3 separate regions of the Homo sapiens genome follow, and regions 1 and 2 are each linked to region 3. Evidence: promoter capture Hi-C in human tissues and cell types (Jung and others, 2019). All regions are on one chromosome and are shown on one strand. Each heading gives the region's core, a stretch centred on a gene start or on the middle of the fragment in contact. The rest is flanking DNA. Distances are from core to core; before and after follow the strand shown. Region 1 holds the start of EXOSC3 (exosome component 3). Region 2 has its middle 40 kb from the start of ZCCHC7. Region 3 holds the start of GRHPR (glyoxylate and hydroxypyruvate reductase).

What was found. Contacts are between HindIII fragments. The study calls those that stand out against the background at their distance.
Region 1: a contact is called between a fragment that was not itself captured here and the fragment with the promoter of GRHPR in region 3, in 1 of the 25 tissues and cell types used here (lymphoblastoid cells).
Region 2: a fragment that was not itself captured here is called in contact with the fragment with the promoter of GRHPR in region 3 in 2 of the 25 tissues and cell types used here (hippocampus and spleen).

The regions. Positions count from the first base shown.
Region 1 is chr9:37,784,061-37,786,760 of GRCh38, forward strand. EXOSC3 (exosome component 3) reads right to left here and starts at 1,004. Exons shown (of 4, transcript NM_016042.4): 1 at 661-1,004; 2 at 1-3. The coding sequence starts at 984. RefSeq lists enhancers at 687-746, 744-1,259, 757-896. The HindIII fragment of the contact is 4,959 bases long and covers 1-2,700 here.
Region 2 is chr9:37,078,951-37,081,650 of GRCh38, forward strand. It overlaps the pseudogene EBLN3P. Among named protein-coding and RNA genes, the nearest start is that of ZCCHC7, 40 kb to the right of the region's middle. RefSeq lists an enhancer at 651-1,130. The HindIII fragment of the contact is 4,726 bases long and covers 1-2,700 here.
Region 3 is chr9:37,421,248-37,423,947 of GRCh38, forward strand. GRHPR (glyoxylate and hydroxypyruvate reductase) reads left to right here and starts at 1,449. Exons shown (of 9, transcript NM_012203.2): 1 at 1,449-1,586. The coding sequence starts at 1,504. RefSeq lists enhancers at 795-1,420, 1,421-2,046 and a silencer at 1,261-1,410. The HindIII fragment of the contact is 13,627 bases long and covers 1-2,700 here.

The DNA.
Region 1 (2,700 bases), core at 125-2,624, 360 kb after region 3:
ATACTACAAAAAGAAACAGAATGAAAAAACAGCCATAAATGACAAGATACCATTGGAAGATACCTTCAGCAAGTCCTTTGTGGTTACTTTATTGTCATTAAAGAGAAATCTGATCAAATGCCACTTTCGGTAAAAGAAAATCACTTCATAAAGTGCCGGGTGTGCAGCTTCTGGTAGTCTGTTAATTGAGTCCAAACTCCATTATCTCTTAGGCACCCCAACCAGTAAGTCTCTAGCTTTGTGGCATAAGTCCAGTGGCAAAGGAATCCTTACAACCAAGGAAGCCCATTCCATAGACAATTTTTTCTATATGAAATTCTTACCTGTTCTAGGAGAAATTAACTCCCTATGACATCCACTCATTGAGCCTAGTCCTGCCCTCTGAGACTCCAAACGGCAGGCCTGCTGTGGGGTTTTGAAGACTATAATCATGACTCACGGTCTCCAAACGTTTTTCTCTCCTGGTCGCCCTTCTCAGGCTATGTTCCTATTGTTCACGGTCCCTCTAAAGGACATGCAGAAGTGGGCACAAGACTACGGTGGCTCTAGGTTTGCCTGAACAAAAGAGGGCCTCAGGGTCCCTCTCTTCTTTTGGGAGGTCTTCTCAAAGCAGGGCTACCACTCTCACTGCCGCACCACCCCTCCGGAGTCCCAGCTCACCCGCTTCTGCTGAGAGTCCACCCAGTAAACACCGCCGCCGCTGCCACTGCCGGGCTCCTTGTGACGGAGGCGGCCGCACTTGGTGACCAGCAGGCGGTCCCCACAGCGCCGAAGGCCCGGACCGCATACAACGCGCACCCGCGAGCACGCTCTAGCATTCAGGCTCAACGGTCGCTCCACTGCACCCCCAGGGCCTTCCGCGTCCTCCTGTTCCGGCAGGAGCAGCTCCTCACCCGGGAGCACCACCTGACCTAGTACTGTGCGTGCAGCGCGCGCCCTGCTGCCCGCGAGAGATTCAGCCGCGACAGACGCAGGTTCGGCCATCGCGGGCTCCACCAAACACCGTTTCCGGTACCCGCCTTCCGCTTCCGCTCCGCTTCCAACACCCGCCCTTGAGGACTTTCCGTTTCCGGCAGTAGCGGTCCGTTGGATTCGGACCAGTTTATGAAGCTTGATGGCCGTCAGCTCACGGGTCCCTGTCCAAGGTGGCAGTGATTGTGGCCGGCCACCTATCTGACAGCCTGGCCGCGGGTCGGTATGAAAACCGCGCAGCTTGGTCCATCGAAAAGCCTCCACTTCCAGTGTCTCGGGTCGCGTGTTTTGTGACCGGTCGCATCGTGGGGATACGAGATACTTCCACTTAAGAGTTTCTTGGGATCTCTGGAAGCTGAGCAGAGGGGCTTTGAAAATTGGACGCTGGGGCCGGGCGCGGTGGCTCACGCCTGTAATCCCAGAAGTTTGGGAGGCCGAGGCGGGTGGATCATTTGAGGTCAGGAGTTCAAGACCAGCCTGGCCACCATGGTGAAACCCTGTCTCTACTAAAAATACAAAAATTAGCCGGGCGTGGTGGCACGCACGTGTAATCCCAGCTACTCGGAAGGCTGAGACAGGAGAATCACTTGAACCTAGGAGGCGGAGGTTACAGTGAGCCTAGATGGTGCCACTGCACTCCAGTCTGGAGGACAGAGTGAGACCCTGTCAAAAAAAAAAAAAAAAGGGAAATTGGACGCTAGGTGGGTTCATGGGACCTTCTTTCCGACTCCGCCCTCAGAAGAGTGGCTGACCTTTTAACAGGAAAAGTAGTTTTTTTCAAAATAAATAAAACCTTCTTGGTTGTTAGAGATCTAGTCACATTTAGAAAACACAGAGAAAAATAAAAGAAGAAAATAAACGATGTTTTAATCTTGCCCGTTTTTCTCCCTTGCTACACTGTAGTTCTGATTCTTTAGAGCCCAAGGTGTGGCATGAAATAGGTAATACCTGATGAATGAACGAATGTATTCCTTTGGTGTGTATTTCTCCCTAGACTTTTTCCCCCTGCAAATATACATATTTCACATGCTTCCGATAGCCCTACATGGCCTGGAATATCAGTAACTCAAATTTCCCTGGAGCACACTTAGTTGCGCACGTGAGAAGCAGTTGAATTCCAAACCCAAAGAGATTCCAATCATCTATCTGACTTTGGGGGTTCTATTTTAAATCACCGTTTTCTCTGTCAACTCGAACCTTCAATTAGTGCTTGATCAGATTCTCCAGCAGTGGTAGAATTCCTAGGGTCTGGGAGGCCGTGACTGACCGATTGCCTTTAGCGGCCCTCCCTTTCTACTGCTCATCTCTTTGAGGCACCTGCTTCCAACGTAATTTTTAGATTTTTTTTTTTAGACGGAGTCTCGCTCTGTCGCCCAGGCTGGACTACAGTGGCACCATCTCGGCTCACTGCAACCTCCGCCTCCCAGGTTCAAGCAATTCTCCTGCCTCAGGCTCCCGAGTAGCTAGGATTACAGGAGTGCACCACCGCACCTGGCTAATTTTTGTATTTTTAGTAGAGACAGCGTTTCACCATGCTGGCCAGGCTGGTCTTGAACGCCTGACCTCAAGCGATAGGCCCACTTTGGCCTCCCAAAGTACTGGGATTACAGGCATGAGCCACCAAGCCCGGCCGAATTTTTAGATTTTTTAGGATGATTAAGACAGATCATCTCTAACACACCCTCCAAATTTGGCAAGCCATTTTCCCCTGGGTATAAAAAAAGGTCA
Region 2 (2,700 bases), core at 144-2,643, 340 kb before region 3:
TGGAAGGATCAATTCCTTTGAGACAAGAGTTCAAGCTTCCTGGCCAACAAAACAAAGAACTCACTTGAAACTGCTGCTAAGATCATGTATTAAATTAAGGGTAACTTGAAGTGATGCTCCCAGTTTGCATTCTTGAGACTTGGCCCAAATAAATTCTCTATTTATATTAACTTTGCCTCCGTTTTTCCTTTAGGTTGACAGTTATTTCTAAAGTTGTACAGAAGGGTTTACCTTGAGTATTAAAATAAGGTGTGAGAAAGGCAACTGAAGCCAGAGGCTCCCATCACAGCCTTGTGGCCTTCGGAGGCTTCCAAAGGATCAGCATTAACTGCAATATTTAGGAGGAGTGCAGCTCTTCAAGATTCATAAAGTGTTAAATCTGTTGCCTGGAATTCCAGAAAGAGGGGGAGGAAGAGCACAGTGTGAACTGTGTTCAACTTCAACCTAAAGGTAAAAGCGATCAGCCTAAGATCAGGAGCGCAAGGGAGAAGCTTGAAGCCATGCGTTCTCACGGAGGCGTTTCCCGCTCCAGGGCTGCCCAGGCCCGCGGGCCAAGCAGCTAGCCGTGCGGGCCGTCGTCACGCCCGCGATCAGATCAGCTCCCCGCCACGTGGCACTGGGAAGGCGTCCACCAAGCTCCAGGGAGAAGGAGGCGGAGCCCGGCCTCAATCTCACCCGTGTCCTCATGGGAGTTGTAGTTTTCCTTGCGGGCGTAGAGGGCACGAACTCCCGGCTTTTGCCCGATAAATAGCATCTCTTTTGTACGAGTCATTCAAATAATAGACGCAATCTAGGTAACTTCAAGAGAAGATGGGAAGGGGAAGGGGCAAAGCATGGAAGGCAAATCTAAAGATTATGGGCGGGGCAGAGAAAGGTTCGCACTTAGTACGCATGCGCATACCAGGCGCGACAGGTGGGCGGACACAGAAGGCGACGCCTAGGGCTGTGTTGTCCCGGAAGTGCCTTCTCTCCTCCCGGGTCTGCGCGGACGCGGCCTCCTTACCTCATTTGTCCTCGCCCCTCCCCGTCCCTCTACGCGTTTTGGTCCCTGTTTGGTGCTTTCTGTTTGCAGCTACGGCAGTGAGTATGTATGTGACGGACCCCGAGTCACCCGCGGCCTGGGACCCCTGCCTACCCTCCGTCTCGCCAGCCGAGCTGTGGAACTAGCGCGTGCCCCCTCGCCGACCTCGGCGTCTCCGGTCCGCCCCTCACTTGTGGTGGGGCGCAGCTCCTGGTCCCTCAGCTGCGCGCCGCCCCACGCGGCCGGGCTGCGGGTCTAGGGGGTCCGCATCTCCCTGGCTTTCCAAGGGCTAAGGTCGTGATTCTAGGGCGGCTGGGCGTCCAGGGCCTCGGTGGGGGTGGCGTGTCTGCCCTTTTTATCTCCCCGCAAGGCCCCCAGTCTTCTAGGGAAGCCAGTCAGTGAAGCGCGGAGGTCCGGGCGCGCCGAGAGAGAGTCCAGTCTTTGAGGACCGAGTAGTCCTGGGCCACCTCCCGCCTCTGCTGTCAGAAGCAGCAGCTGCCGCCGTGGAATCCAAAATTTCGGGAGCTGTGACCCTTTCCTCATGTAAAACGAGTAGTCTTGGACGGTGAGCGGACAGTTGCCTTCAACTTTTGGGAAGAGCTGCCGGTTCGGTGGAAAAGCTGTGGCTGGGAATCAGGAGGCCTGGGTTCTAGCCGTGGCTCCCCCACGGACTCGCTGGCGATTCCAGAAAGCTCTTATTGAGGCTGAATTTAAGATTATATCAGATTACACAGTTGAATTAGGGGCTCCATTAGTAGGGCCCTTTTAGCTCAGTGAATAAGTTTCTCCAACTATAAAACGAGAGCGTTCAATTTGATGACTTTTCAGGTCCCCTCAGAAGCTCTTGACTTTGTGGTTTTCTTTTTCTTTTAAAAAATTTTTTCTAGGACCGTTAGAGAAATGACTTCGTGTTTGAATAGTTAGGCTGTCGCATACAAAGACTTTTAAATGGATTGTGTGTATACTTAGGAAGGCATTATGCTTTCAAGAGAATCTGAGGATGGGGAATAAAGTCAGGAAGGATCGCAAGTGAGGATTATATTAATATGATAATTAGCACGGTAAGAGACTGCATGACCGAAGGAAAAGGGCTAAGGGAAAGGTGAAGGAAATGTTTCCGGATAGGATTAGTTCTCATAAAAATCATATATATATCCCAAGAAGAGCTGGGACTTATGTGACTAAATTTAGCTTATTTTTTTTCCCCCACTGAAATACTGTGCTCTGCCTCTGTTTTGTGACCTTTGTTTTACACATTTGGTTTCTCCACTCCAATCTCAGATTTGATTCAGAGTGGCCGTGGCATTTGAAAAATGGACATTTTAACCCCTTAGTCAATTGTGTTTCACCTGTCACTATCAGGATAGCTCATTAATAGTAAGAAAGAAATTTTACGTTGAAAGTAAAGTGTGTTCAGCATATTGCAGTGAAATTTGGACTGAAAATGAGGCTGTGGATTTGATTTAAATCGGCCCGAGATAGATTCCTATGTCGTCAAGAAGGAACATCTAGGGAGGCTAAAGGTGCTTTGGAAGTAAATAAGAGCAAAAGGTCAGAATGACCAGTAGGTAGGCTGTGAGACCAGAAAGATTGATTAAAGACCGGGCGCGGTGGCTGACGCCTGTAAATCTCAGCACTTTGGGAGGCCGAGGCGGGCGGATCACCTGAGGTCAGGAGTT
Region 3 (2,700 bases), core at 199-2,698:
TGGTTCCCCAATGTATTATTTTTTACATTGGTATCTTGCTGTAATTTTAATATGCAGTTCTTTTGTGAGTCAAGTTGAGCACTTTTCATCTTTTGTTTTTTTTTTTTGTTTGTTTTGTTTTTTTTTGTTTTAGATGGAGTCTCACTCTGTCACCCAGGCTGGAGTGTAGTGATGGGATCTCGGCTCACTGCAACCTCCATCTCCTGGACTCATGAGCAATTCTCCTGCCTCAGCCTCCTGAGTAGCTGGAATTACAGGCATGTGCCACCATGCCCACCTAATGTTTGTATATTCAGTACAGACAGAGTTTCACCATGTTGGCCAGGCTGGTCTCAAACTTCTGACCTCAAGTGATCCGCCTGCCTCGGCCTCCGAAAGTGCTGGGATTACAGGCATGAGCCACCGCGCCCAGCCATACATTTAAAGGCCATTTTCTTTTCTATAAACTGTCCATTGATATCCTTTGCTTATTCAGATAAGCTGGGCATCTTTGTCTTAGGAACTATTTGTGCAATAAGTAAATCAACCCCTTGTCTATAAAATGAGTTGCAAATATATGGTATTTTTCCCGGTTTGTTGTCTTATGATTTTGTTAATTTTTTTTTTTTAAGATAAACATAAGCCTGGTATTTCCAGGCACCTGGTATTTCCAGGCAGTCTCCCATACAAGCCCTAACCAGGCTTAGTTTCCAAGATCAGATGCATTCAGGATGGTACGGTTAATTTTTCAATGGAGAATTAGTTGTACTCTTATGGCTTCTGGCTTTCGCACACATAGCGTATCACTTATTTATTGCTGCATAAAGAATTACTCCAAAATTGAACGGCTTAGAGCAACAGCAGTCAGTGCATTATCATCTCTTATGGTTCCGGGGTTGACTGGGCTCAGCCAGTGATTCTCCTAAAGGCTCTTTCTTGCAGTTTTAGCTGTAGTCAGGTGGGAGTTGGCCTGGAGTCACCCGAAGGCTTCCTCACTCATACCTCTGGTCATTGACGGTGGCTGTGAGCCGGGCCCCTGGCTGTGCTGTTGGCCTGAACACCTACACGTGACCTCTCTGTGTGTCCTGGACTTCCTCACAGCCTGGAACCTGGGTTTCTACCCTGGGCCAACCCAAGAGACAGAAAAAGTGGGGGCTTTCAGTCTCTTAAGGCCTGAGCCTGTGGAAACAGGACCCTGAGCGTGTAGAAAAAGCAGGGCTCCCATGAGGCCTTGGACGGGATACTGCCCCCTCTCCCCCGGGGCCCTGATTCCCCAGTGGCACGAGGCGCACCCCCCCACACACACACAAGGACACTGTGTAGGGTCACTGTTACTGTCACTCCCCGAGCACGCACAGTCACCGCTCAGCCGCAACCCGGCGCTCCCTCTCGCGAAGCCACACCCCCTGCGCACGCCGCGCGCGACGTCTCTCCCGCCCACTCCAGCCTGGCCCCGCCCCGGCCCAGCTACATTCCCGGGCCAGCTTCTGTACTGCCAGGTCCGGGTCGGCGGCTGCACTGCGGATGAGACCGGTGCGACTCATGAAGGTGTTCGTCACCCGCAGGATACCCGCCGAGGGTAGGGTCGCGCTCGCCCGGGCGGCAGAGTAAGAGCCTCGCGCGCCGTGGAGGAGGGAGCAGGGCGGTCCCAGGGACCGGAGAGCCGGGCGGGGCGTTTGGGCCTTGTGGCCGGCTGGGGCAGGCTTGGAGTTTTGGGGAGTCTCGGAGAAAGTTCTCTGGGGCCCAGTTCTCCTCTTAAGACGACGCTGGGACCTGCAGTTCCGGCTTTGGAGAGGGGAGATTGCCCCTGAGGCAAGGTCCAGGCTAATTCTCCACGCTCCCACAGGACATGTGGGGTCAGGGACATGGCGGTCACTGACCAGGCCCTTGGACGTTTGGCAGGGGGCTTTGATGACTCTTCTTCTTTATATTTACTTATCTTTTTTTTTTTTTTTTTGAGACAGTCTCACTCTGCTGCACAGGCTGGAGTGCAGTGGCTCGATCGATCGTGGCTTACTGCAGCCTCGACTTCTTGGGCCCAATCAGTTCTCCCACCTGAGCCTCCCGAGTAGCTGGGACTACAGGCGCAAACAATCACTACCGGCTAATTTTCTGATTTTTTTTTTGTAGAGATGGGGGTCTCACTCTGTTGCTCAGGCTGGTCTCAAATTCCTGGGCTCAAGCAATCCTCTTGCCTCAGCCTCCCAAAGTGTTGGGATTACAGGTGTTAGTCACCATGACTGGCCTGAGGACCCTTTAATTTTTAAGACAGGGTCTCACTCTCATCCAGGCTGGAGTGCAGTGGCACCATTATACCTCACTGCAGCCTCAACCTCCTGGACTCAAGAGATACTTCCACCTCAGCCTCCCAAGTAGCTGGGACTACTACAGGCATGCACTACCATGCCTGGCTAATTTTTTATTTTTTTCAAAGACGAGGGTCTCACTGTGTTGCCCAGGCTGGTCCTGAACTCCTGTACGAAGGGATCCTCCCACCTCAGCCTCCCAAAGTGCTGGGATTACAGGCATGAACCACTGCACCTGGCCCACCCTTGCTAAATGGAACCCTTTTTGTGGGCCAACCTTGCCAGGTGCTTCATATACATAAACTTTTAATCCTGGTAGCACTGTGAAGTCAGTATTATAATTCCCATTGCACAGATTAAAAACTGGAGGCTGGACTTAGGGTTAAGTTTCTTCCCAAAGCCATGCAGCTCCCAG